7 separate regions of the Homo sapiens genome follow, and regions 1, 2, 3, 4, 5 and 7 are each linked to region 6. Evidence: promoter capture Hi-C in 16 types of primary human blood cells and fetal thymus (Javierre and others, 2016). All regions are on one chromosome and are shown on one strand. The core of a region is centred on a gene start or on the middle of the fragment in contact, and the rest is flanking DNA. Distances in the headings are between cores, read along the strand shown. Region 1 overlaps CAPN9 (calpain 9). Region 2 overlaps C1orf198 (chromosome 1 open reading frame 198). Region 3 has its middle 21 kb from the start of CAPN9-AS1. Region 4 overlaps TSNAX-DISC1 (TSNAX-DISC1 readthrough (NMD candidate)). Region 5 overlaps TSNAX-DISC1 (TSNAX-DISC1 readthrough (NMD candidate)). Region 6 holds the start of GNPAT (glyceronephosphate O-acyltransferase). Region 7 holds the start of LOC105373167 (a long non-coding RNA gene).

The links. Contacts are between HindIII fragments. The CHiCAGO score rates a contact against its expected background, and 5 or more counts as called.
Region 1: a fragment that was not itself captured here is called in contact with the fragment with the promoter of GNPAT in region 6 in 1 of 17 cell types (erythroblasts); the score reaches 5.1 in erythroblasts.
Region 2: a contact is called between a fragment that was not itself captured here and the fragment with the promoter of GNPAT in region 6, in 3 of 17 cell types (non-activated CD4 T cells, endothelial precursors and erythroblasts). The highest score is 6.1, in non-activated CD4 T cells.
Region 3: a contact is called between a fragment that was not itself captured here and the fragment with the promoter of GNPAT in region 6, in 1 of 17 cell types (erythroblasts). The highest score is 6.5, in erythroblasts.
Region 4: a contact is called between a fragment that was not itself captured here and the fragment with the promoter of GNPAT in region 6, in 3 of 17 cell types (non-activated CD4 T cells, naive CD4 T cells and activated CD4 T cells). The highest score is 6.1, in non-activated CD4 T cells.
Region 5: a contact is called between a fragment that was not itself captured here and the fragment with the promoter of GNPAT in region 6, in 1 of 17 cell types (neutrophils). The highest score is 5.7, in neutrophils.
Region 7: a contact is called between a fragment that was not itself captured here and the fragment with the promoter of GNPAT in region 6, in 1 of 17 cell types (non-activated CD4 T cells). The highest score is 5.1, in non-activated CD4 T cells.

What each region holds. Positions count from the first base shown.
Region 1 is chr1:230,794,845-230,798,474 of GRCh38, forward strand. CAPN9 (calpain 9) reads left to right here. Exons shown (of 20, transcript NM_006615.3): 18 at 319-435; 19 at 3,318-3,376. It overlaps CAPN9-AS1 (CAPN9 antisense RNA 1), which reads right to left and starts at 367. Exons shown (of 2, transcript XR_001738518.2): 1 at 269-367. The HindIII fragment of the contact is 4,089 bases long and covers 1-3,630 here.
Region 2 is chr1:230,852,577-230,855,760 of GRCh38, forward strand. C1orf198 (chromosome 1 open reading frame 198) reads right to left here. Exons shown (of 4, transcript NM_032800.3): 2 at 3,092-3,142. Among named protein-coding and RNA genes, the nearest start is that of C1orf198, 14 kb to the right of the region's middle. RefSeq lists an enhancer at 2,666-3,184. The HindIII fragment of the contact is 1,354 bases long and covers 1,205-2,558 here.
Region 3 is chr1:230,814,277-230,817,605 of GRCh38, forward strand. No RefSeq gene overlaps it. Among named protein-coding and RNA genes, the nearest start is that of CAPN9-AS1, 21 kb to the left of the region's middle. The HindIII fragment of the contact is 2,373 bases long and covers 573-2,945 here.
Region 4 is chr1:231,615,341-231,618,818 of GRCh38, forward strand. It overlaps TSNAX-DISC1 (TSNAX-DISC1 readthrough (NMD candidate)), which reads left to right. Exons shown (of 16, transcript NR_028393.1): 5 at 1,304-1,566. Among named protein-coding and RNA genes, the nearest start is that of LINC00582, 5.0 kb to the left of the region's middle. RefSeq lists a silencer at 2,609-2,809. The HindIII fragment of the contact is 279 bases long and covers 1,426-1,704 here.
Region 5 is chr1:231,578,031-231,581,691 of GRCh38, forward strand. The region is part of intron 4 of TSNAX-DISC1 (TSNAX-DISC1 readthrough (NMD candidate)); the gene reads left to right. Among named protein-coding and RNA genes, the nearest start is that of LINC00582, 32 kb to the right of the region's middle. The HindIII fragment of the contact is 2,180 bases long and covers 841-3,020 here.
Region 6 is chr1:231,239,891-231,243,430 of GRCh38, forward strand. GNPAT (glyceronephosphate O-acyltransferase) reads left to right here and starts at 1,322. Exons shown (of 16, transcript NM_014236.4): 1 at 1,322-1,566. The coding sequence starts at 1,489. It overlaps FSAF1 (40S small subunit processome assembly factor 1), which reads right to left and starts at 1,285. Exons shown (of 7, transcript NM_152379.4): 1 at 1,134-1,285. The coding sequence starts at 1,251. RefSeq lists enhancers at 1,015-1,354, 1,335-2,224. The HindIII fragment of the contact is 8,993 bases long and covers 1-3,540 here.
Region 7 is chr1:230,886,576-230,890,162 of GRCh38, forward strand. LOC124904547 (a long non-coding RNA gene) reads right to left here. Exons shown (of 3, transcript XR_007066938.1): 1 at 3,153-3,587; 2 at 2,922-3,053. It overlaps LOC105373167 (a long non-coding RNA gene), which reads left to right and starts at 2,825. Exons shown (of 4, transcript XR_949264.3): 1 at 2,825-3,057. RefSeq lists a silencer at 2,004-2,178. The HindIII fragment of the contact is 1,382 bases long and covers 1,462-2,843 here.

The DNA.
Region 1 (3,630 bases), core at 782-3,281, 440 kb before region 6:
GTCAGCGAGACTCTATGGGTGATGTTAGCATCAAAATTAAGATCACAAACTCGCTAAACTCAGAAGCCATTAAACACAGAAAGCACGCCTGAGAGTCCCCCGCACACTCGCCCCTGCACCACAGATTCACACTCTCACGCTGCATTCACACCAAGGGCAGCAGTCCCACTGGGTCTGGGGACCCCAGCTTTGAGGAGTGAAACAGTGGCTTCCTCTTCTGAGCCCTCTCCTCAGCTGCCTGGGAGCTCCCTCAAAGGTGCAGACTCACCTCGGGGCTCGGATACAGCGAGTCCTGGGTCTCCTCCTTTGTCCCCACAGGCTTTCAGCTGAGCAGCCACCTCCTGCAGCTGATTGTGCTCAGGTATGCGGATGAGGAGCTCCAGCTGGACTTCGATGACTTCCTCAACTGCCTGGTCCGGCTGGAGAATGCGAGCCGTAAGTGTCCAGCGAGGCTGAGGGTGCACCTCGGGGTGGCATCTTCAGTCACCCTCCATGAGCGCATGAGAAACAGCCTGGTTAAAGTAATGGCAAAGATAGACCACAGAGAGCCATGGTCTGATGTGTGTGGACCCATGGGCCTGTGCGGTTAGCTAAGGAGCAGAATGTGCCAGCCTCCCCTGCAGCACGTTTCTTAGCATCGCCTTTCTTTATACATTCACAGTGCCTCTGTGGGAGGATGATGGGCTGGGGCAGGTTTGTGCCTTGTGTTTGAGGAAAGGTTCAATTGCAGGTCAAATCCCATCATAGCATATAGAAACAGGAGAGTCTCAGTCCCCCTTCCTCCCCCCTTCCCCGCCCTGTAAGCCCTAGACATTGACCCAGTTATCTCAAATAAGATTTGTTACACCACAAATAGAGAGGGATTATGTGCCCGTGCGCTTCAGTGTTTGCAGTTTATTGTCATAGCCATCCTGCCCCTCAAAGGTGGTTTTGAAGGTGAGGCTGAGTGAAGCATGTCCAGGGCCTGTAACTCAGTACTGGAGTGGCTATGAGGACATGCCCTGTGTGCAGGTGCCAAAGGACCCGTGCCCTCAAGGGTGCCTCGTGCTTGGTTTAATGTTCTGGCGTTTCCATCTTGAAAGTCTTCACAACTTAGGAGCAGGGGGCCCCGCATTTCCATTTTGTCCTGCTTGGTATTTTCTAATCTATGTTCCATAGGCCACTTCGAGGTATGAATACTTGATTAAAAAAAAAAAAAAGGCAGGGGGCTGGGCACAGTGGCTCACGCCTGTAATCCCAGCACTTTGGGAGGTTGAGGCAGTTGGATCGTGAGGTCAGGAGCTCGAGACCAGCTCATAGCGAAACTTTGTCTCTACTAAAAATACAAAAAATTAGTCAAATGTGGTGGTATGCACCTGTAATCCCAGCTACTCGGGAGGCTGAGGCAGGAGAACCCCTTGAACCTGGGAGGTGGAGGTTGCAGTGAGCTGAGGTTTGCCACTGCACTCCAGCCTGGGCAACAGTGGGAGACTCCATCTCAAAAATATAAATAAATAAATAAATAAATAAATAAATAAATAAATAAATAATAAAATTAAATTAAATTAAAATAAAAAGGTGAGGGCTGTGACCCTTGGTTATCAGCATGATAGCTCCCTCTGCTTCTTTGGTAATAGAACACTAATTACTTGCCTGAAGCACAGCCCCTCTAGACTCTAAGCTCCAGGAGAGCCGTAATTTCTGGACAATCAATGAGTATGTGTTGATTAAGGAATGATGAGAGAAAATCAGAGACAGACCAGCAGGCCCCAAAGGGTCTAGTATATCAAGCCAGGAAGCCGGCTTTCCCTAAGGGGTTACTGGTAGCTAGTGAGAGGTGCATTCTAGAAAGACCCCTCCTGAAACAGAATCCGTTATTAGACTTACAGGGTGGTCAGAGCTGACCCTAGAAATAATGAGATTTGCTAGTTTCTCTTCTCTCCATTGCTCTTTCCCTTTCTAAACCACCCAGGTGTAATCCTTCCCAGAACGGGGGGTGGGAGTGCCTCAGCTTTTCTTATAGTAGAGGAATATTAGGGTGAAGACCCTTTAGGCTTAACACCATCCACTCTGGCATCCTCACATTAGATTTGCCTGGAGAACTTTTAGAATTACCAAGGATGGAGCTTTGCTGCAGTATTATTTTAACTTTTTATTGTAAGAATGTCAACCCTCCAGTTAGATATAAAGAATCATAATAGGTTCCCATGCACTCCACATCAGCACTTCTCAAACTTCGCTGTACATTACAATCTCCAGGGGTGCCTAAAGAAATGCTGATGACCAGGCTGCACAGTTGACCAATTCTGTTAGAATCTCAGGGGTGGCACACAGCATTGGGAGTTACGCAAATTCGCCAGGTGTTTCCAGACCTTTACACCCAACCTCAACAATTACCATCTTGCTAACTTTTCCCTTGTGCTCCCGCAACACATACATTTTCCCCCTAAATAATTTAATAGCAGATCTCAGAAACTCTGTCCATTCATCTGAGTATCTCCAGCTGATAGACTTGTTTTTAGCATCATCTTCATACCATTTGCACACCTAACGAAATTCTCAGCAAACCCTCAACATTCTCTAGTGCCCGGTTCATGCCCAAGTCTTCCAGGCCACCTTTTTACAGTTGCTTGGTTGACTCAGGATCCACACAAGACCCAGTCACCATGTTTGGTTGTTGGGTCTCTTCCATTTCTTGTGTCCAGTGATGGTCCCCCACCCCGCTTTGGGTTGTATTATTAAAGCTACCCGAGAGATTCTCAAGTGAAGCCAGGGCTGATTGGCTCGACCTCGTCTTCTGAAGGTGAGGAGGCTGAGGCCCCAAGAGGGCAGTGACTTGCTCAGGTGCACTCAGGTCACTACACCATGCGGTAGACCCAGCCCCCAGCTCAGTGCTGGCACGCTCTCCTGTGCCACTCTGTCCTCTGACAGCACCCACGGCACCTTCCTACAAGGGCGAGACTAACAACTTTCAGATTCATGCAAAACTTTACGTGCGTGTGCTTTTTTTCTGGGGCCTATGGATTTCAAGGGCCCTGTACCCCCCAGAAGGTTAAGATAGGGGCGTTGCTTTGGCTCCAGGAGCTGCTGGCCGGCTGACTGGCTTAGGTGACCACTGGCTTGCTACAGGACTGGATGCCTCCATCCGTTCAGAGAAGTTCACCTTCAGCCCGCCCTTGATGAGAGTCCCATCGCCGCCCTTGATGAAAGTCCTTGTTTACCACCAGATGGAGCAGCTTCCCCACAGGCTCCACTGGAAGGCCCTTTGGTCGCTGGGAAACAAACTTGGTAAAGGAATTGTCTTTAAAAGGATGCCTTTCCCCCTTCTCTCCTATCAGGGGTGTTCCAGGCTCTCAGTACAAAGAACAAGGAGTTCATTCATCTCAATATAAATGAGGTATGGCCAATCCAGACCCTCTGCTCAGGGACCCAGCTGGGGCCCAGCAGAGTCCACGCTGCATAGATGTTTGCCGAATGCTTGATTTCATGCAAGGGCTGACATCTAGCTGTGGGAGTGATTATAACAAAATAGCTAATATTTTTGAGATACTATTTATCAAGTAATCAATTAAGCCATTACAATAATTCTGTGAGCTAAGTACCAATAGTATCCCCATTTTGCAGGGTGGAAACTGAGGCATAGAGAGATTA
Region 2 (3,184 bases), core at 632-3,131, 390 kb before region 6:
AAAAAGAGTTCTCGAGATGGATGATGGTGATGTTTACACAAAAATGTGAATGTACTGAATGCCACCAGACTATACACATAAACATGATTAAGATGGAAAATTTTATGTTGTGTGTATTTTGCCACAATTAAAAATAAAACTTAAAAAAATCAATGAGTGATTAATTAAAAATGGAAAGAAATGGCCAAGGTTAACCAAGGAATGAATGACATCATACAATCTTAGATTTAAAATGGGTGCAAACTCTCTGCAGCTCTTCTATCAAGAGGTGCAATCTCTTTCCTCAAACATTGAATCTGGCCCAGCTTGTGCCTTGATTTGACCAGCAGAACAGAGCAGAAGTGATACTATGCAATTGCCCAGCCTAAGCTTCAAAAGAGTCCTCGTAGGCTTCCGTTCCCGCACACGGATCTCTCCACCTCTGTGTGAAGAAGTCCAGGCTGGCTTGCTGGAGACATGTGGCCCAGCTAACAGCCAGCACCAACCAGACACGTGAGCAAGGTTCTCAGAGCACCCAGCTCCCATCAGGCGATCAGATGACACATAAGTGATCCCAGGCAAGGCCAACGGAAGAACAGTCCAGCTGAGCCCTGCTCCGATCATTGACCCACACAATCATGAGCACATAAAATGCTGCTTCAAGCCATTAAGTTTGTTATGCATCTATAGAGAACTGATAGAGTGAGGAAGGCATCAGTTGAGAGGTAACAAGAAATGGGGTCCAAGTCTCCCTCCAGTCCTGCAATTGGAGATTAGGGGGTCCTACCTTCACTAAAGCCACCTCCTGTTTGTGGCTCTCCAATGAAGATCTTATAAGCCTTTAAGTCCTAAGAAGAGTTTGGCAAATCTCTTCAAGCAGGATGGCAGGGCACTCCAGGGTTAAGACAAAGGAGGAATGAGTGATGGGCTTTTTAAAACTCGGCACTGCCTAGTGAAGAAGGAGGAAGGGACAGCTCCCTTGCTCTCTGAGATACGCTCTATTTTGCCCCTAGACGTTTCTAATAGTAAACTATAGTAAGTCTGACCTCGAGAGATCAAACAGGAAGGTGAGGACACAGAGTGAGCCCAACAGTTTGTGAAACAAACTGGAACTCTAATCTAACAGGAGTATGAAATGAAACTGCCAACTCTGAGCTATGAAGACTACACTTTACTAAAAGGATGCAATTTCTGATGGGTGACACATATTAACCAGATTTTAGCAAGCTTCCTCAACTTACACTGGTTCCTAAGGGACCAGATATGCTGGCATCTGTGGACAATGAGCCTCTCAGCACAAGTGTGATTCAAGTGGACTGTACTTGCTCTCTTTTTTCTCGAGATCTTCGCCAGGCACCTGTTTCCCACTCTGGCCCCAGCAGCTGTGCTTGTATCAGTGGCCACTCCAGGAGCTGCACCACCTTGTCCCAGAATGTCATTTATGCCAAGTTAATAAAAGATGAAATGTCCTGTCCCACAAATAGCTGATTCAGGAACATTTAACAAGCTAAATTCTTAAGAGAACAGATGTTCTCGTGGGGAACATGATGAGCTTAGGTCTTAGGACACTTTAACTATTTTTTACTTTCCTTTGCCTTTATCACTATGATATCTTCAAATATAGACCCAGTCCAGGAAAATCTGCACTGCTTTCTGGGTCACCATACCCAAGGCTGCTCATTTCCAACACACAGAGAATCTATCTGGCTATTACCACTAGATATCATCTATAGGATTAGTACTTCTCACAATTACCCATTTTGGGAGCCCATAGAAGAGGAATATTGAGGGCCCTGGCTAAGAATCAATGTAATGATGCACTTTTTACCCACTTATGACTTCCTTTGCAATGTCAGTAGACACAGGATCCAGTGTTGGATTTAGAAGCTATTCCAATTGCAGGCGGCTCCTTAACATCTTGTGCTCTCTCCCAAGACAGTGCTGGTCACCCCTGCAACCCGTACCCGATCCCTAGGGAGACTACATTAATGCCATGCCTTCCCCAAAACCACCTCTTAACTCTAACACTCATCTCAATTGTCCCACGCTCCCACGCCCTGAGGCCAGCTCACTTCACCCAGGGCAATCGGCAATAGCTTACTAAATACTGTCTGTGTGCCAAGAACAGTGTCAGCTGTCCTTGTGTCCATCTGAACCCTTGGGCAATATTTCATTTTAAGACACAGTCGCCAACATGAGGGCCTCTCAGGGTCCTTCATGAACCACTCTGGCCCACCCTCCTCATAGGTCTCCTGCTGGGATGAGGGCTCTGATCAGCAATGATGTGGACAAGTGAAAAACCAAAAAACAAGTGCCTTGAGGTATCAGTATTTAAAAACCCTGATCTGCCCAGCAGTCCGAGCCCTATTCCAGGCTCACCACCGTCTCTGTCTGTAACACACTCTCATGACGTAAAGAACCCTCCAACACACATCACCAAATGTTCCAGAATTCAGAAAATCTTGGTCTTTTATTTCTGTCCCTTGGGTTAAAGACACCTGTCTTTTAGTCATTTTGCTTATGAATGTACTTCTACTGGGGCAACTTAGGAGATGGGGAAAATGAATTAAAATCAGTGAAGCTTGATGCTCTTAAGCAACTCTGGTGATGATGATGATAATGATGAGAAGAAGAATGACTGGGAGACAGAATTAGTGATCCACGTTGGGATGAATTAGCTAAATGGATGTCTATGTCTATCAATCAGCTCGTCACCTCCCATTTGCTCAAAGCTTTGTCTTATGGGGCATCTCCCATCAAGGTGCTAAGTGCTGGGAACCAGAGGTATGAGCAGAGACAGGGCCCCCAAGAGGGCTGGCCCCCTTAACCAAGCTGGCCGGGAGTCCTAGACAATGGGCATCATGGGGCGTCATTGGACCCTGGCAGAAAGCACTACTACTTTGAACTCACTATCACCAAACCACACACAATAGTTTCCTAATTCCTCACCATGCTCCTCCCATCCCCTCCTTTTCTACCAACAATGGACACATCCCCTGCAGCCTGGCAGTCAGGGGGCTGTCTTCTGAGTCCATCAAATGCTGAAAGAAAAATATACAACTACTCAGTTCTTTTTAAAAGAACAAATAGATCTAAATTTAATCCAACTTACCTTTGTTTCCCAGGAGAAAGGGGCAGAGTGCTCATCTTGCCAAGTTAGATCCTGAAATAAAAAATCGAGAATAAGTCTGAAATTCAAACCCAG
Region 3 (3,329 bases), core at 509-3,008, 430 kb before region 6:
TTTTTCTTTTTCTTTTTTTTTTTTTTTTTTTTTTTTTTTTTTTTTTTTGAGATGGAGTCTCTCTCTATTGCCCAGGCTGGAGTGCAGTCAGCTCACTGCAACCTCTGCCTCCCAGGTTCAAGCAATTCTCCTGCCTCAGCCTCCCAAGTAGCTGAGATTACAGGCATGCACCACGCTTAGCTAATTTTTGTATTTTTAGTAGAGACAAGGTTTCAACATGTTGGCCAGGCTGGTCTCAATCTCCTGACCTCAGGTGATCCACCTGCCTCGGCCTCCCAAAGGGAGGGATTATAGGCATGAGCCACCACACAAGCCTATCTCTTCCATTTCTTAACTTAACACGTTCAATCTTTTTTCTAGCTTCTTGAACACATGGAATACAGTTGTAATAACCATTTTCATGTCTTTGTCTACTAAATATATTGTCTGTGTCAGTTCTGGGTCAGTTTCAACTGACTGATTTTCCCCTTCATTATGGGTTGTGTTTTCCTGCTTGTTTGCATGACTGGTGATTTGTGATTGAATGCCAGACAATGGTTGCTGGATATTTTGTATTCCTATAAATATCATCAAGCTTTGTTCAGGGACACAGTTATTTGAAATTAGTTTGATCCTTTTGAGCCTTGCTTTTAAGTTTTGTTAGGTGGGACCACAGCAGCATTTTAGTAGTTTTCATTTTCCCCACAACTGGACTCACCCGGAAAATTCAGAAATTCAGAAAATCTGCCTATTTTAAGGTCTATAACCTTAATTACATATCAAAATCCCTTTTTTCCAGATAACATAATGCACTCACAGTGGGATTAGGGCATGAATAATTTAGGGGGCCATTAGTAGGCCTTACACAGTTCACCCTCAGGCTCCCTCCCCCCTGTAATATTCATGTCTGTTCCATACACAAAAGAGAGTGGTGCTCCTGAGTTTGTACTGCTGCATGGTTGAAGGTGCCACAGAGATTGGAAATTGTCAAAAAGATACTACCTTTGTCCAGGATCCAAGAGTCTAGATCAATCTTACTTTTGCTCAGGTGTTACCCTGTTCTTGCTGGTGTTACAACTGCCAGAAACTACCCCACTGTCAAACCAGAAATAGAAGATTCTCTCTTCTTTCTGTGTTCTGATTTTCTCCCAGGCCCTCTCTCCTATTCACGGTACCTAACAGTAAGCCAGTTGGCAAAGTATCTGTAGTTTGCAGATACCTCACTTGGCAGTATGGATTATAGGAAGGTCACTGTGAGGCTAGATGAATTTGGCTGCACTTACCTCTCCTGCTGTCTTTGGTTCTGACCAGTGGAGTCAATGCACAAATAGCAATAGCCAGATGCTGAACAAAGAATCAGATGTATACATTACTGGGCAAACTCCTCCGAAGTGCTGCTTAAATCTGGATTGTGGAGAATGGGTTAGTCCTGAGGGCAATGTGGCAGCTCTGAAGAGAGTGCCTTTAGGCTGGCTCTACAAGGGTTAGAAAAACTGCAAACTGGCTTTTGCTGCAGCTATAGGAAGTTTCTACTGCTGCTGGGGTGGAGAATTCAGGGTGATGCTCATAGCAACAGTAAGTGGACAGAAGGCAGACAAGAAGGAGCAAGTCTCCTCTTCCTCCTCAAGCCTCTCAGTCTCCTTTTAAGCCTCTTACTGTCATGGCCTCACAAAGAGCAGCTATAAAACAGAAATGGGTTTTGCATAGAACCAGCCTCAGTGCTACAGTGCAGAGTATATGTGGGTGAGTGTGGAGCTGAGAGGTTAGCACCTAAGACTGACAAACTCTGTACCTAGGTGGTGCTGAAAGTGCATAGAACACATGCATGACCTCTCCATGTAGATACAGATCTGTGGAGTAGCTATTCACCCAGGGAAGAGAGAACTTGAGGCTGCAGGGAGGCCAGAATATCCTCTCTAGTATGTCTCCATGTGGGAAGAGAGTGTGTTAGTCCTTCTACCACTGAGCCAAGACAAAACCTTCCTTCCCTTGCACAATGGCACTGGGCCAAGTAATGGTGACAATTGCTGAGGACAGTGGTTACACAAAGACTTTTGGAATCTGAGAAAGCAAAGATGCAATTTGTGCCATGACTATAGGTTGTCTAGAGGTAACATGTAATGTGTTTTTAGTAAAAAGTTATTTCCCATAGAAAAGTATATATGCATGCAATTAATTGTAATGATGAAATTCTTGATACAACTCTTATAGGAAAGACCAGAGGTAATGCAAATTTTATACTTACACGCTGCACAGAATAAATCTTTCTAAAGAATATGTAATTCAGATTAATGAGTAGTCAATCACCTTAGCCATTTTTTCTAACTATAAAGTTTTTTTTCTCTAAATTAACTTCTGCATTTTTCCACAAAAATCAGAAGGTTCTTTTGGAACTGTACAACACAAAGAGTGAACTCAAATGTAAATGATGGATTTCAGTTGATAGTAATGTGTCAATATTGGTTCATCAATTGCAATAAATATACCACATCAGTGTTAATATGTGTGTGTGTGTGTGTGTGTGTGTGTGCGCGCGCTTGCATGAGTGTGTGTGTGTTAGTGATAGGAGAAACTGTGGAGGAAGAGAGGGGGAAAATGGGATATATGAGACCCGTCTCTGCTTGCTGTTCAATTTTTCTGTACAACTAAAACTGTAACTTTGTTCTGATTACTTTTAAATTGAAATCCATTTCCTTAAAAATCACTATCACTGTTTTCTCATGCCTTTGACTTCTTATCATGGCCCCTTGATCAGGACTGTCCAGAGAGCTCACGCCTCCCTTTGTTCATGAAGGTGGGCGTGTTCATCACTGGTGGGTGTGCTCATCACAGGGTGGTTTCTGAGACTGAGGAGCCATCAGCCTTCAAACTTCCTTTGCTTCAACCTCTAGCTTCAGTTGGCTGGTGGCTATTTTCACTTCAGCAAGAACTTCACTAGATTTGTAGATCTTTGGAAATCAAGACCAAGCTTGAGTAGAATATTTTTCCAGACATCTCTGAGGTTGAATTTGCAACCTCCTGCAAAGAGTTGTCAGTGTTCTCTGAATCCTGGGTTTTGAAAGCTTCCCGGTTTCATGTTTGTCTATGATTTTTACAACATGGTTCTGGAAGCTCTTGCAAACATAAATTTTTAAATGGACACAACTTTCGGACTTCCATGTTCATGTCTGCATTGTCCAGTTTTAGCAAGAACCCTGCTAAGTCAGTTTAACTAGATTGTCCACACTCAATATCTGATCGCCATCGATATCTGATCAGGTTCCTCGTCTTCCACCATTTGCCAGGTGATGTCTGATCACCCTGGCCTGCCTTCAGCAAGAATCCTGTTGGGTTGGTTTAGCCAGAATCCC
Region 4 (3,478 bases), core at 315-2,814, 380 kb after region 6:
CTTTCTTTCTTTCTTTCTTTCTTTCTTTCTTCTTTTCTTTCTTTCTTTCTCTTTCTTTCTTTCTTTCTTTCTTTCTTTCTTTCTTTTCTTTTCTTTTCTTTTCTTTTCTTTTCTGTCTTTTTTTTTTTGACAGAGTTTTGCTCTTGTTGCCAGGCTGGAGTGCAGTGGCACGATCTTGGCTCACTGCAACCTCCGCCTCGCGGGTTCAAGCAATTCTCCTGCCACAGCCTTCCTAGTAGCTGGGATTACAGGTGTCTGCCACCACGTCCAGCTAATTTTTGTATTTTTAGTAGAGACGGGGTTTCACTATGTTGGCCAGGCTGGTCTCGAACTCTGGACCTCAGGTGATCCACCCACCTCGGCCTCCCAAAGTGCTGAGATTACAGGCATGAGCCACCATGCCCAGCCCTCATATTTCTTTTAAAATAAATTATATACATTATTTTAAATTGTAAAAATCCAAAAAGCCAAAAATTTTTAAAAGAATGAGATAAACAGTATCTTTCAAATAATGAAAAAAAAATGGTATATAATGTTAGATTTAGGCTTGGCTTCATATAAGAAAAAACAACTAATGGTGGCATAAACAAGGTAACAATTTTTCTCTGTCCCATAAAGGAAATCTAAAGGAAGGCAATCCAGCAGGGATATGGCAACCCCACAAAGTTGTCATGGAACCAGACTAATTCCAGTTATCTGCTTTGCCATTACTAAGCTGTGGCTTTGTCTTCAAGGTTCAAGATGGCGTCTAGAGCTCCAGCCATTGTATCCATAGTCCCAGATGCCTGATGAATGAAAGAAAAGTCTCCTCTTCCCCTTTAAGATTTCTTTAAGTCCCATAAAACATTTTGAAACCAGATTGGAAGTCTTTTAACCTTCTGATTCCAACCTAGAGCAAGGAAATCCCCCAAGGAGTGCTCTACCATGTGAAATCTTCTCTTCCCCATGTTGTCATGATCCTGCCCTCATGTGCTCTGACTATTGCCAAGCCTTGGATTTCATTTCTGGAATAATGCCTTGCTCAATATTAGAACCACTTTAGTTAGGATTTGGGGGAGGCAGCATGATTGAAGAACGTGAGTGCTGTTGACGACAGTATTGTTGGTGAAAGCAGCTCCAGTTCCACAACTTACGATCTGAGACATCGTGTGGCCATTCATGTACAGGCTTTCAGAACTGAGAGAACTTTGGTAGACTAATCAAGATGAGATAGGTTATCCGGTGGCAACAAAGATACCTACGTCTCAGTAGCTTAATTCAATGTATGCTTCCTTTTCTCTTGTTCATGTTTTATGTTTTATAGAAGTTTACAGGCAAGATCCTACTCACAGAGGCTCTTGGGATCAAGGCTGACAGAAGCTCCATCTGAAGACTTTTATACTATAGAGGCAGAAAAAGAGTGATGAATCAAGCACTGGCTTCTAAAGCTTCCGCCCAGATGGGAAGCATATCTCCTCTGCTCACATTTCCCTGACCAAAGCCAGTCACATGGCCATCCTCAGCTTCAGAGAGGTTGGGAAGGCATTCCCACTATGTGTCTGGATGCCAGCAACTCAGAAATATTTGGTGAGTGCCTCTGTGGCTACTGGTAGTTTAGTTCTTATGCCTATGTTCCAGTTTTGTCCTCTGAAAGGCCAAATCTGAAATTCAAAATCTTACAAACAGGTTTATACTTGAAAACGGGTAAACATTCTCATAACATAAAGCTTAATAATATTCATGAGCTTATTTTTGCAAACTCTGCATCACACCGAAAAGAGAAGTTCTCTGGCTTCCTCAGCTCAGGGGCTGTCTCATTACTTGGTCCCTAAGACCACAGCTGGGGACTGGTTCTACCTACTATGGAAGTTTCACCAGCCAGGACAAAATAAAAAAGAAAGGAAAAACCAGGATAAATGAGCTTTTGAGAAAGCAAAATTCACTGTTTTTAAGGAACTGTCCTAGCTTCTATCACATATGTATTATTTTTTTGAGGTTAAAAGAAGGCTTTTCTATATGAAATAGTGGCGATGGTAGTTGGTAGAAGTTTTTTTTTTTTAAAGAAATGTATGGCTGGGTGCGGTGGCTCACGCCTGTAATCCCAGCGCTTTGGGAGGCTCAGGCAGGCAGATCACCCGAGGTCAGGAGTTCAAGACCAGCCTGGCCAACATGGTGAAACCCTGTCTCTACTAAAAATACAAAATTAGCTGGGGATGGTGGCGTGTGCCTGTAGTCCCAGCTACTCGGGAGGCTGAAGCAGGAAAATTGCTTGAACTCAGGAGGTAGAGGTTGCAGTGAGCCGAGATTGAGCCATTGCACTCCAGCCTGGGCAAAAAAGAGCAAAACTCTATCTTAAAAAAAAAAAAAAGTAAATTTACTTGGCAAAATAAAATGTTAGTGTCATTATATATCTCACCTTCTTGTTTTTTCTTAAATTTTTAGCAACCAGCCATGAAACAAAAGTTTAAAAGCCACTCATCTGGTTTCCCCTTTGTTTTCAAAGAAGGAAGCTAGAAAATTAAGTGATGTATCCCCAAACACACACATTTAATTGGAGAAAGAACCCCTAATCAATTCTTGAATTCAAATTTCAAATTAGCTGAATGGCATGAACCTTTCTTCCCCTGGAATAGCCTTACAGAGACCTCACCATTAACAGCATCTGCAAGAGAAGATTAAAGCACACGATTACTTTACTCACTGTGTAACACATGAGGAACATGGACGAGATGGGAAAAAGGTGAGTGGCTTAACGTCAAGCACTTCATTAATGAGATGAACTCCTGACTTTGGACAGTGGTCCACTTACAGACGCTGTCTTTGAAACTGCCTGCAGAGCCTCCTGAGATCTTCTAATATGGCTGTTGAATTGGGGCATTTAAAAGCTTCTGATGGTTGCAATGTGCATCAGTTTTGGGGGACAGGGAGGTCCCCTCTCTCTCATTAAGAAGACACAAGCCAGGAATTTATACTGATCAGACAACATAAAAATCAGCTGTGAGAGGATTGGGTCAGAAAACCAATGAAGAGAGGTTGGCCAGAAGATTAAAAATCAGAAAAAGAGGCTTGAAATTGCTGAGCTTTCTAATGATAATAAGGTTGCCACCTATTATTATGGCCACTCATGTTGTCCCCCTGTATATGAGAGCTGTGAGAGTAACAAAGTGTTACGTGTCAAGGGTCACATGTGACAATCAATGTGAAAGATGGAAAGAGAGGGCTGGTGCCTATCACCTAGGAATGATAGGTGATATGGCCGAGGTGATAAACAGTGAGAGGGGGGCGAGTGTCTCTTCCTCGGTGGAAGTTGGAGTAAATGTAGACACGGATAGAGAACAAAGTCTACTTATTCAAAACCGAGCAGCCAGGGGAGGAGCAGTCCTCCCACAGTGAACTATTGAATTGTGAATAAATCTCTGACTGGAGAGATTCTGAGTCAGGGGGATTAGCTGTTCCTATATTACATGTGGTAAACTGGCAGAAACAGGTTTAAACCATT
Region 5 (3,661 bases), core at 681-3,180, 340 kb after region 6:
CTCATCAATCGAAGACCCGAATAGAACACAAAAGCTAAGTAAGAGGGAACTCCTCTTCTCTGGCTGCTTGAGACATTGGTCTTTTCTGGCCTTAAGACTCAGACTGGCCGGGCGTGGTGGCTCATGCCTGTAATCCCCACACTTTGGGAGGCTGAGGCAGGTGGATCCCCTGAGGTCAGGAATTCAAGACCAGCCTGGCCAACATGGTGAAACCCCATCTCTACTAAAAATACAAAAAATAGCTGGGCGTGGTGGCGGGTACCTGTAATCCCAGCTACTTTGGGAGGCTGAGGCAGGAGAATCACCTGAACCTGGGAGGCAGAAATTGCAGTGAGCCAAGATCACACCATTGTACTCCAGCTTGGGCAACAAGAGCAAAACTCTGCCTCAAAAAACAAACAAACAAAAAAACTCAGACTGAAACATCAGCTCCTGGGTCTGGAGCCTCGTGGCTTTTAGTATTAATAACATCAGCTATTCTGGTTCTCAGGCCTTTGGACTTGAACAATGGTTCTCCTGGGTCTCCAGCCTGCCACCTGCCTATCTTGGGACTTCTCAACCTCTGTAATCCTGTGAGCCAATTCCTTATAATTAAACACACACACACACACACACACACACACACACACTCTCTCTCTCTCTCTCTCTCTCTCTCTCTCTATTGGTTCTGGTTCTGTTTCTCTGGAGAACTCTGGGTAATACAATATCTTTGGCTTATCTCCTTGTGTACCTATGTAAGAATTTCTCTAGGAAGATTATGAAGGAGTGAAGTTGCTTGGTCTTAGGGGTATACGTATGTTCCACTTTATTAGATATTGCCAAAGTGCTTTTACCAATCTAAGCTTTCTTCTACAACTGTCTAATAGTTTATGTTTCCACATAATTTTGTGAGTCCTGATGGTCAATCTAATGGATTTTTAATGGTTTTTTTTTTTTTTTTGGGAAACAGGGTCTCGCTCTGTTGCCCAGGCTGGAGCGCAGTGGTGTGATCATAGCTCACTGCAGTCTCAGACTCCTGGGCTCAAGCCATCCTCCTGCCTCTACCTACCTAGTAGCTGGGACTATAGGCACAGGCCACTGTGCCTGGCTAATTTTCTTATTTTTTATAGAGATGAAGTCTCACCATGTTGCCCAGGCTAGTCTTGAACTCGTGACGTCAAGTGATCCTCCCGCCTTGGCCTCCCAAAGTGTTGGAATTATGGACTCGAGCCACCACATTTGGCTGACAGTATCGCTTAATTTTTAATTTTCCTACTGCTACTAATTTTACCTATATGAGATCGCATTTTTGTGAGCTAAAACTATCAAGTATTGGCAATTTAATGAGGTTTAATCTAATAGTGAATATCTTTACAATGAAAACTTTTGCCACCCAGATTTTGTCTATATATTACTTGCCCTTATATTCTTGACATTTTTCTATTAGATTGTCTTTCTCCAAACTGCTCTTTCCCCCTTCTCTCCTTTTTGTAGTTCTTTACTGATAGCTTCTCCTGGTCTATGGTTGAGAGTATGTTGTCCTTTTTATAGAGAAATTTTGATGCCACCAAAATTTGGACACCAGTATCCATTACCTGCCACTCTCAATTACCCTTAACCGCCCCCCACCCCCGTGGCCTTAGGCAACAACTAATCGACTTTCTATATGTACATATTTGCCTGTTATGGACATTTCATGTAATGGAATCATAAAATTCCATTCTTTCAATTACTGGGTTCCTGCCATTCTCCTGCCTCAGCCTTCCGAGTAGCTGGGACTACAGCTGCCCACCACGGCGCCCGGCTAATGTTTTTTTATTTTTTAGTAGAGACAGGGTTTCACCGTGTTAGCCAGGATGGTCTCAATCTCCTGACCTCGTGATCCACCCGTCTCGGCCTCCCAAAGTGCTGGGATTACAGGCGTGAGCCACCGTGCCCGGCCTAGCATGTTTCTTTCAGTGAGCATGTTTCAACTAGCATGCTTCTTTCAATTAGCACGTTTTCAAGGTTCATCCATGTTGCAGCGAGTATCAGTGCTTCATTTCTTTTTATTGCCGAGTAATATTCTGTCATATGGATACACCACATTTTCTTTATTCATTCATCAGTTGATGGACATTTGGGTTGTTTCCACTTTTTTGGCTCTTATGAATAATGCTGTGAACATTCATGGGCAGTGTTCTTGTTTATTTTAATAGTTTTTTGTTTGTTTGTTTGTTTTTGAGATGGAGTCTCACTCTTGTTGCCCAGGCTGGAGTGCAATGGCACAATTTCGGCTCACTGCAACCTCCACCTCCCAGGTTCAAGTGATTCTCCTGCCTCAGCCTCCCAAGTAGCTGGGATTACAGGCATGTGCCACCATGCCCGGCTAATTTTTGTATTTTTAGTAGAGACGGGGTTTCTCCATGTTGGTCAGGCTGGTCTTGAACTCCCAACCTCAGGTGATCTGCCAGTCTCAGCCTCCCAAAGTGCTGGGATTACAGGCGTGAGCCGCCGTGCCCAGCCTAGTTTTGTTGTTGTTGTTGTTGTTTGTGTTTTTTTGAGACAGAGTCTCACTCCGTTACCCAGGCTGAAGTGGAGTGGTGATATCTTGGCTCACTGCAACCTCCGCCTCCCTGATTCAAGCAATTCTCGTGCCTCAGCCCCACCAAGTAGCTGGGACTGCAGGCATACGCCACCACACCCAGCTTATTTTTGTATTTTTAGTAGAAACAGAGTTTCACCATTTTGGCGAGGCTGGTCTCGAACTCCTGACCTCAAGTGATCCACCTGCCTTGGCCTCCCAAAGTCCTGGAATTACAGGCGTAAGCTACCACCCCTGGCCTATTCTAATAGTTTTTTTTTTTTAAAGCAGATTCCTTAGGGTTTACTACATACAAAATCATGTCATCTGCAAATACAGATAGCTTTACTTCCTTTCCAATCTTGATGCCTTTTATTTTTGTCTCTAACCTAATTGCTCTGTCTAGAACCTCCAGTACAATGTTGAACAGAAGTGGCAAAAGCAGGCATCCTTGTCTTGTTCCTGATCTTAGGGAGAAAGCTTTTAGTCTTTTAATTATGATGTTATCTGTGGGTTTTTCATAGATACCCTTTATCAGGTTGAGGAAGTTCCCTTCCGGTCCTAGTTAGTTGAGCATTTTATCATGAAAGACTGTTGGATTTTTTTTTAATTTGAATATGATTTTACTGAAGCATACATCATTTCAAAGCAAAATTAGTTTATGTTGTCAATTCTAACATATAATACATTTAAGTCATTATATGAATTTCATTTTTTGTGTATTTCACTGTAGTGCTGTGACAACAAAATGACATCTGTGTCCCAGAGCATACATATATCAACAGTAAGATGTAATTTTTCATTACATCACTGCTAGAATATTTAGCTTTGTGTAGGAGACCTAAGCATGTAAGATGGCCACACTAAATAATTTTCTGTTTTTTTCCTTAGGTAATCTTAATTTTTTATCAGTAATACTTTATAGCTGTTAGTTGTGCATTGGCAGTATAAAAGCTAATATATACTGTATGGTCTTGCAACAGTTTTAAAGCCTCTGCATAACTGATAATAAAAATGCATGACATTTTTGTTTTTAATAGACTTTTAAAATTATAGTTTTAGGTTTAACACATAGATCTTTGTACACTTGACTTTTTGACATAGCAAGGCCAAAAATAA
Region 6 (3,540 bases), core at 72-2,571:
AGCTCCTACCATGATTTCCAGCCTGTGTTGACATGAACTATATTATTTTGCAGAATAGTCTTTTCCTCTAGATTTTAAACTTCTCAAGGTCAGAGACTAAGTCTTCTCTGTCCTCCAATATGTCCAAGGGCACAGAAATGCTAGTTAATACAAGCATGGGGTCTGGGGCTAGAATCAGAACCCAGGCTCTGCAAAAATTACCAGTCAGACAACCTGCATCAGGTTTCATGAACTTCTAGTACTTGTTTCTACATCTGCAATCATGGATTTATGACAGTGTCTATTTCATGAAGTTGAAAATTAAATGAGCAAATACACGAAAAGCATGTGCTATATGGCAAGTTCTCAACAGTTTTAACTATTATTCCTACTGTTTAGGTGAACTTAGAATTTTGAGCAGTCATTCCAAAATAAAAATAGCTTTTAAAATATCACGCTGTAAATTTAAGAAATGTGTGTTGTCCTGAAATCTAATGATTTTCTTTGGTGCATGTGCAAAGGGTGTCACCTTCTCCCGGGAAAGCTCTTCAGAGTATGAGGCACTGTCTTCCTACTGACATGCCATGCGACTTTAATAGGCTCTTTTATTTTCCTTTTCCCCCATCAAGACAAAGAACGGAGAGTAAAAGATCAGCGCACTTGTTTAAAAAAAAAAAAGTCGTGAAAAGGACAACTCGCCAAGGACTATGATGTCTCTGGAGAGGGACACACAAGGATGAAGCTGGTGTATTATCCAACAGGCCCGAGGCCCCAGAGCGAAATGACACCATCGCACCAGGGTCAGGCAGGTCTTGGGGGTGGCATGGGGAAAGGGGACTTCCCAGGGCTCAAGAAAACGTGGAAAAGCGGGCTACTTTTAAATCGGAAAGCCTTGGTGCTTCCTACAAGCAAGTAGGATGGTCCCCACACTTGGGGACGAGTTGGAAGGTTTGATGAATAACTCAGCAGAGCCCGGTCGAGGGGTGACTTCCGATGGAGAAATGTGTTCGCTACTGGAACCAGGTGGGACGAAGGGTGCTTGACATGCAAGAACCTTTAGCCTCAAAGCAGAGGCCAACCCAGGACGGGCAACACAGGAGACCCACGTTCCTCAAATCTGTTCTCCACGTGGGCTCCTGGGACCCCGCACTCACCAAAGTCGTAAAGGTTCTGGAGCAGAGCGTCAAGAAGTGTCGGAGAACTGGGAGGCGTGGAGGACCCCGGCCCTTGCTCCTGCGACATTGTGGGGTCAGCCGAGGAATCAACCCTCATTCTGCCGCGCTGCACCCCCGCTTCCGGGTTCCGCGACTGCGCGCATGCGCTGCAGGGCCCTGCGCGGCTTCCGTCCTGGCTGAGATGGCGGCGCCCGGGATCCTGTGTAGCGGCTGCAGAGGGTGCCGCCGCCCTAGGCGAAGTAGGGCCGTCCTGAGCGAAAGAACCGCCCCCAGCAGGAGCACCACCACGGCTTAGCAAAGAATCCCAGACCCCGCCCGGGAAGGCAGCCGCACCATGGAGTCTTCCAGTTCATCTAACTCTTATTTCTCCGTTGGCCCAACCAGTCCCAGCGCTGTCGTGCTCCTCTACTCGGTAGGCGCCCAGGGAAAAGAGGCCCAGAGCGGAGCCGCGCGAAATAGTACCCCTTTCTCCCAGTCCCTATTCCTCCGGCCCACCACCCTTGCCCAAAAGAGCTGGCCCCTAGGCTCCCGAGGAGGGGTTAGTTGGTTGGATTGGTTTCCAGGACAACAGTGTATCGCTGTGTGTCTGTGTGTGCATGCTTTTGGAAGTTTCTACGGATTATGGTTCCTTTGGTTCCTTTCCACTTTTTCCTTCTCTTTCTTTCTATCAGGCCCTGGGGCCTTCAGAAAGCTCCTGGACACGAGAATGAGGAATGAGAATTGGAGTCTCCCCATCTCTAGCGAGGGCATGTCGAGCTACCTTTTGGGCAAACCTGAGAAACTTGCGGGTTTGACCCGCCCTGAGATAGCCTGTGGCTCCGCACCCCGCCCTATGCTGCTGTTATATTCCTGGGAGTAGAGCACTTGGCTTGTATGTGGGAATAGAGTTTTAAACACTTCAGGAAAATTTAGAACTTCTAGACATTTTTATTGCCTGTTCTTGTCTTCCAGTCATTATTGTACCTTTTCCACAAATCATTTTGGAGGACAGCCAGCGCCACCCAGCTTCTCTCCCGCTTGTCTTTTTTTCCTCCAACCCCCTCTTCCTCTCTTGGTTTTAACGGGTCTTTTTGGCTGGCAGATGTTGGTCACCCACGATTTTCATGAAGAAATTATGAGATGGGAGCTTTATAGCCTTCAGGATTGCACAGACCTGGGGCAACTGGTTTGGTTTTTGTTTGTTTCTTGTTGTTTTTAACCACTAAATTAGTTTTTAGCTACTTTAGGAGAAAATGAAAGAATTCATTTTAAAAGCATATTAGCATATCCTGGTGATTACTGTCCAATTTTGGCTTAAATGTAGTGTTCATTTGTGCAGAAAGGTCAAAACAGGGATAACACAGCAGAGCAAGATAAACACCCCAGTTTTGAAAGAGAATATATGGGTTCCTTCAAATTGAGACACCAATATTCTTTGGAACATGGAGAAACTTCTGTTCCCTCTCTATCAAGACCTTTCGGTTTCTGATTGCTAACTGCCTATAAGCCTTATTATTTAGATATATCTCTTCATTGATCTTATCTTCCCCACAGTTCTGTGGTGGATATCAACTTTGTTTTCTGACTCTGCTACTCCAGAGCAGGCACGAAGGGAAGAGGGTTGCTGTGCAGATCCAGCTTTTAACATGTAGCTTTTTAAGCTCCCAACTGGTTTGTGAATTGGTTGGAATTTTCCTTTTGTACATTAAAGGAAGGAGTTGGTTTTGTTTGTTTGTTTGTTTGTTTTACTTCCCCTTTACCAACGGTTCTTTAATAAGACTTGAGTCCACTTTTTCATGTGAAAAACTATGGCAGTTGTATCTGAGCATTCTGTAGTTCTGATGCTGGACAGCAACCCACTCTTTACTGGTAGTTCTCACTACTGTTTTGTGACTGGATAACCTTTACTTCCACGGTAACCTTACTTTTTCTTAGTACTTCAGGCTGTTTTTATTTCCCCAGCTACGCTGTTATTGTGTAATATTCTGATCTAAAAGTAGCACTTTAGAAGCGTAGAAGATACTGCTGATTGCAGCAAACATTAGGAATATATACAGTATCCTACTCATTATTCTCAGTTTCCAAGATATAGAAGTTACAGATGCAGGCTCTGCCTTTAAGGGCACAAAAAGTCATAAAAGTAAACAAACAATCACAGTTAAGTATGGTAAGGGCAATGATTGAAGCATGCACAGCGTGTTGTGGGAGAGACAAGAAGGGGCACCTGACCAGTTTGGGAACTTGGAGAAGGTTTCTAAGAAAAGGTGATATCTAAGCTGATCTTCCTTTTTTGTTTTTGTTTTTGTTTTTGTTTTGTTTTGGAGACAGCCTTGCTCTGTTGCCAGGCTGGAGAACAGTGGCTCGATCTTGGTTCACTGCAACCTCCATCTCCGGGGCTCAAGCGATT
Region 7 (3,587 bases), core at 903-3,402, 350 kb before region 6:
CGTAATAATAATGATTATTTTTTGTTTTTGTTTTTGCTTGAGACAGAGTCTTGCTCTGTCACCCAGGCTGGAGTGCAATGGCCAATCTCGGCTCACTGCAACCTCTGCCTCCCTGGTTCAGGCAATTCTCCTGCCTCAGCCTCCTGAGTAGCTGGGATTACAGGTGCCTGACACCACACCTGGCTAGTTTTTGTATTTTTAGTAGAGATGTGGTTTCACCATGTTGGCCAGGCTGGTCTCGAACTCCTGACCTCAGGTGATCCACCCACCTCAGCCTCCCAAAGTGCTGGGATTACAGGTGTGAGCCACCGCGCCCAGCCTGATAATTGTTTTTTAAAGGAGAGGGACAGAAGAACTTTACATAAGCTCACGCCTGAAGTGAACATGGGTAAGGACATACAAATCTGCTGTTAGTCTCTTAGTGGGTTTCAGCTCTTGTTTGCCTTGCATGGAGGGAGTGTTAAAAATACACCTTTTATCCAAAAAGGCCTTCCAAATGCAGGTCAATTACATTATCTGGTATTTAACAGAACAAAGCACAATCTATTCCCCTGCTAGAGACAAGAAATGTGTCTTTTTGTTTTTTCTTAGAGATGAGGTCTTGCTATGTTGTCCATGCTGGAGCACAGTGGCTATTCATAGGTCGAAACATAGCGAACTACAGCCTGGAACTCCTGACCTCAAGCTGTCCTCCCACCTCAGCCTCCTGAGCAGCGCAGACTACAGGTGCATGACACCGTGCTCAGCTACGAAATGCGTTCTGTTGTTGTGGGGTTTCTGGAGACATAGTTTGTTAGATTTTAATATAGCATCTTCTTAAGAGATTTTTCTTTCTTTTTTTTTTCTTTTTTTTTGAGACAGAGTCTCACTCTGTCTCCCAGGCTGGAGTGCAATAGCACGATCTCAGCTCACTGCAGCCTCCACCTCCTGGGTTCAAGCGACTCTCCTGCATCAGCCTCCCAAGTAGCTGGGATTACAAGCATGTGCCACCACATCCAGCTGATTTCTTTTTGTTGTCGTTGTTGTATTTTTAGTAGAGACGGGGTTTCACCATGTTGGCCAGGCTGGTCCTGAACTCCTGACCTCAAGTGATCAGCCCACCTTGGCCTCCCAAAATGCTGGGATTATAGGCATGAGCCACCATGCCCAGCCTTCCTTAAGAGATTTTTAAGGGTAATTTTCATTATGCTCAATATTACCTTATACATGGCACTATATAATCAGAACAGTTTTTTAGAAACTGTACCAAAATAGGATGACCCAGGAGAGCTACCAGAGACAGGAGACCAGGTAAGAGGCTGTTGCTTCTATACAAGAAAGAACAGGTCTCAAGTAGGATGGTGGTTGTAGGTCTGGGAACATACAGGTGTCAGATATCACAAAGAAATACTCGACAGAGCTTGGGCATGGGTTAAAGATAAGAGTCAAAGAAAAGGAAGAGGTCACCGCTGTCCAGTTTTAAGCTTGGATAACTTGGAGAATGGTGAAACAAGGAGCAGAAATGAGTCAGGAGGAAGAACTGATTTCTGGGGGAAGGATTTGAAGAGTCTGGCTGCACACAATTTGAGTTTGAGGGGCTGATGATCCATGCAGGTACAGAGGATTTGTAGCCAACTGGAAATGCAAGACTAGAGTTGGCAGGGAAGCTAGCACTAGAAATGGTGCAGAGATGATGGTTGAAACCACGAGAACAGATACAGTCAGTGAAAGAACTAAAACAAGAGAGACCTGGCCGGGTGCGGTGGCTCACGCCTGTAATCCCAGCACTTTGGGAGGCCGAGGAGGGTGGATCACCTGAGGTCAGGAGTTTGAGACCATCCAGGCCAACATGGTAAAACCCCGTCTCTGCTAAAAATACAAAAAATTAGCGGGGCATGATGGCGGGAGCCTGTAATCCCAGCTACTTGGGAGGCTGAGGCAGGAGAATTACTTGAACCCGGGAGGTGGAGTTTGCAGTCAGCCGAGATCACGCCACTGCACTCCAGCCTGGGCAACAAGAGCGAGACTCTGTCTCAAAAAAAAAAAAGAGAGAGAGAGACCCAGGACAACCACGGAATGTGGTCGCAGTTAAGGATGGGACTGAGGCATGAGAGGGCTAAGGCTGCAGAGAGGAACCACGTCAGGGGCAGGAGCAAAACCTGCCCTCTTTTAAGCCATCCTTGGTGTTGATGGCAAATGATCTTTCTAATTCTAGTCAAATCATTCCCATGCTTTACAGTCTACATACAGAGAATGAAGTCCAAATTCCTGAGGATGATGGCAAGACCCGCCCCTCTGCCCCTCACTTCCTTTCCAGCTGCATCTGCAAGCCATCCCAAGCACACTAGGCACGTTCATCTCTCTGAACATTTCCTCCCAACTTTGCCTCTGCTGGGAAGGTCCTTGGCTACCTGGCACATTTCTACTCCGCCTCTGCGGTCCCATACTCTCCACACCTCCTCGGCATAGCCGCCGCATACATAACTGCCGCACAGCTATCCACCTCAGGTGGAAATAATTGGGTCCTTTTGGCTTTCCCACAGCAACTTTGATATAGCTCTTTTAAAATCATTATCACTTTGTCTTATTACGTATCACTTCTTTCCGAATCGAGCCTGAGATCAAGCAATCCAGAGCAGGGAAGCAAAAAAAAAAAAAAAAAACGTCAACAAGAAAGCAGACAGAAAAGAGCAGAAGCCAGGGGAAGGCTAGGTCCATGGACAGAGGGTGGGGAGGGGTCAGATCAGAGGTTAAGGTAGAAATGAGTGGAAGGCAGCGCCAGAGCAGGTTCCACTACCAGTAGACGTGGGAGTGGGTAACAGTTTGAGTGAAACTGATGGTAGCTGGTGGGAAAGGCTTCTAGAAGCTTCTAGAAGCTCTGCCCTGGTGTTGACACACTAGTCATCTCTCCTGAGATTTAATAACATAATTATCTGATTCACCTTGGCTTTTTTTCCTTTGACTTTTCCAGATTCCGTCATATCTCCGAGACTCCAAGTAAACCTGTGTCCAAATGTCTCATAGGATGCTCCCAGGAACGGCTTGATCCTCGTTTTTGAAACTTCAAGTGCTGGCTAAGTAAGGGGATGTATTTATTAGTCCATTCTCGAAAGGCTATAAAGAAACGCCTGAGTCTGGGTAATTTATAAAGAAAAGAGGTTGAATTGGCTCACAGTTCTGCAGGCTGCCCAGGAAGCATGGCTGGGAAGGCCTCAGGAAAGTAATGGAAGGTGAAGCGGGAGCAGGCACTTCACATGGCCAGACCCGTAGCAAGCAGAGGAAAGGGGGTGTGGGGGCCGTGCATCTTCAAACAACCGGATGTCAGTAACAAGGCAGGGTGGTGCTAGACCATGGGAAACGGTCCCCACGATCCAATCACCGCTCACCAGACCCCACCCACCTCCAACCCTGGGGGTTACAACTCAACATGAGATTTGGACTGGGTCACAGATCCGAACCATATCGAGGAAGAAGCACCTAACTCAACCTCTCTGCTAGGAAATTACCAACTGAGAAATTCCCTTTGGATGCTTCCCTGCCCTCAAGCCTCTCACTTCACCCTAAAGAAAAACCGGCGGTTGATGTAGAACGATGGGATGGCCATTTTC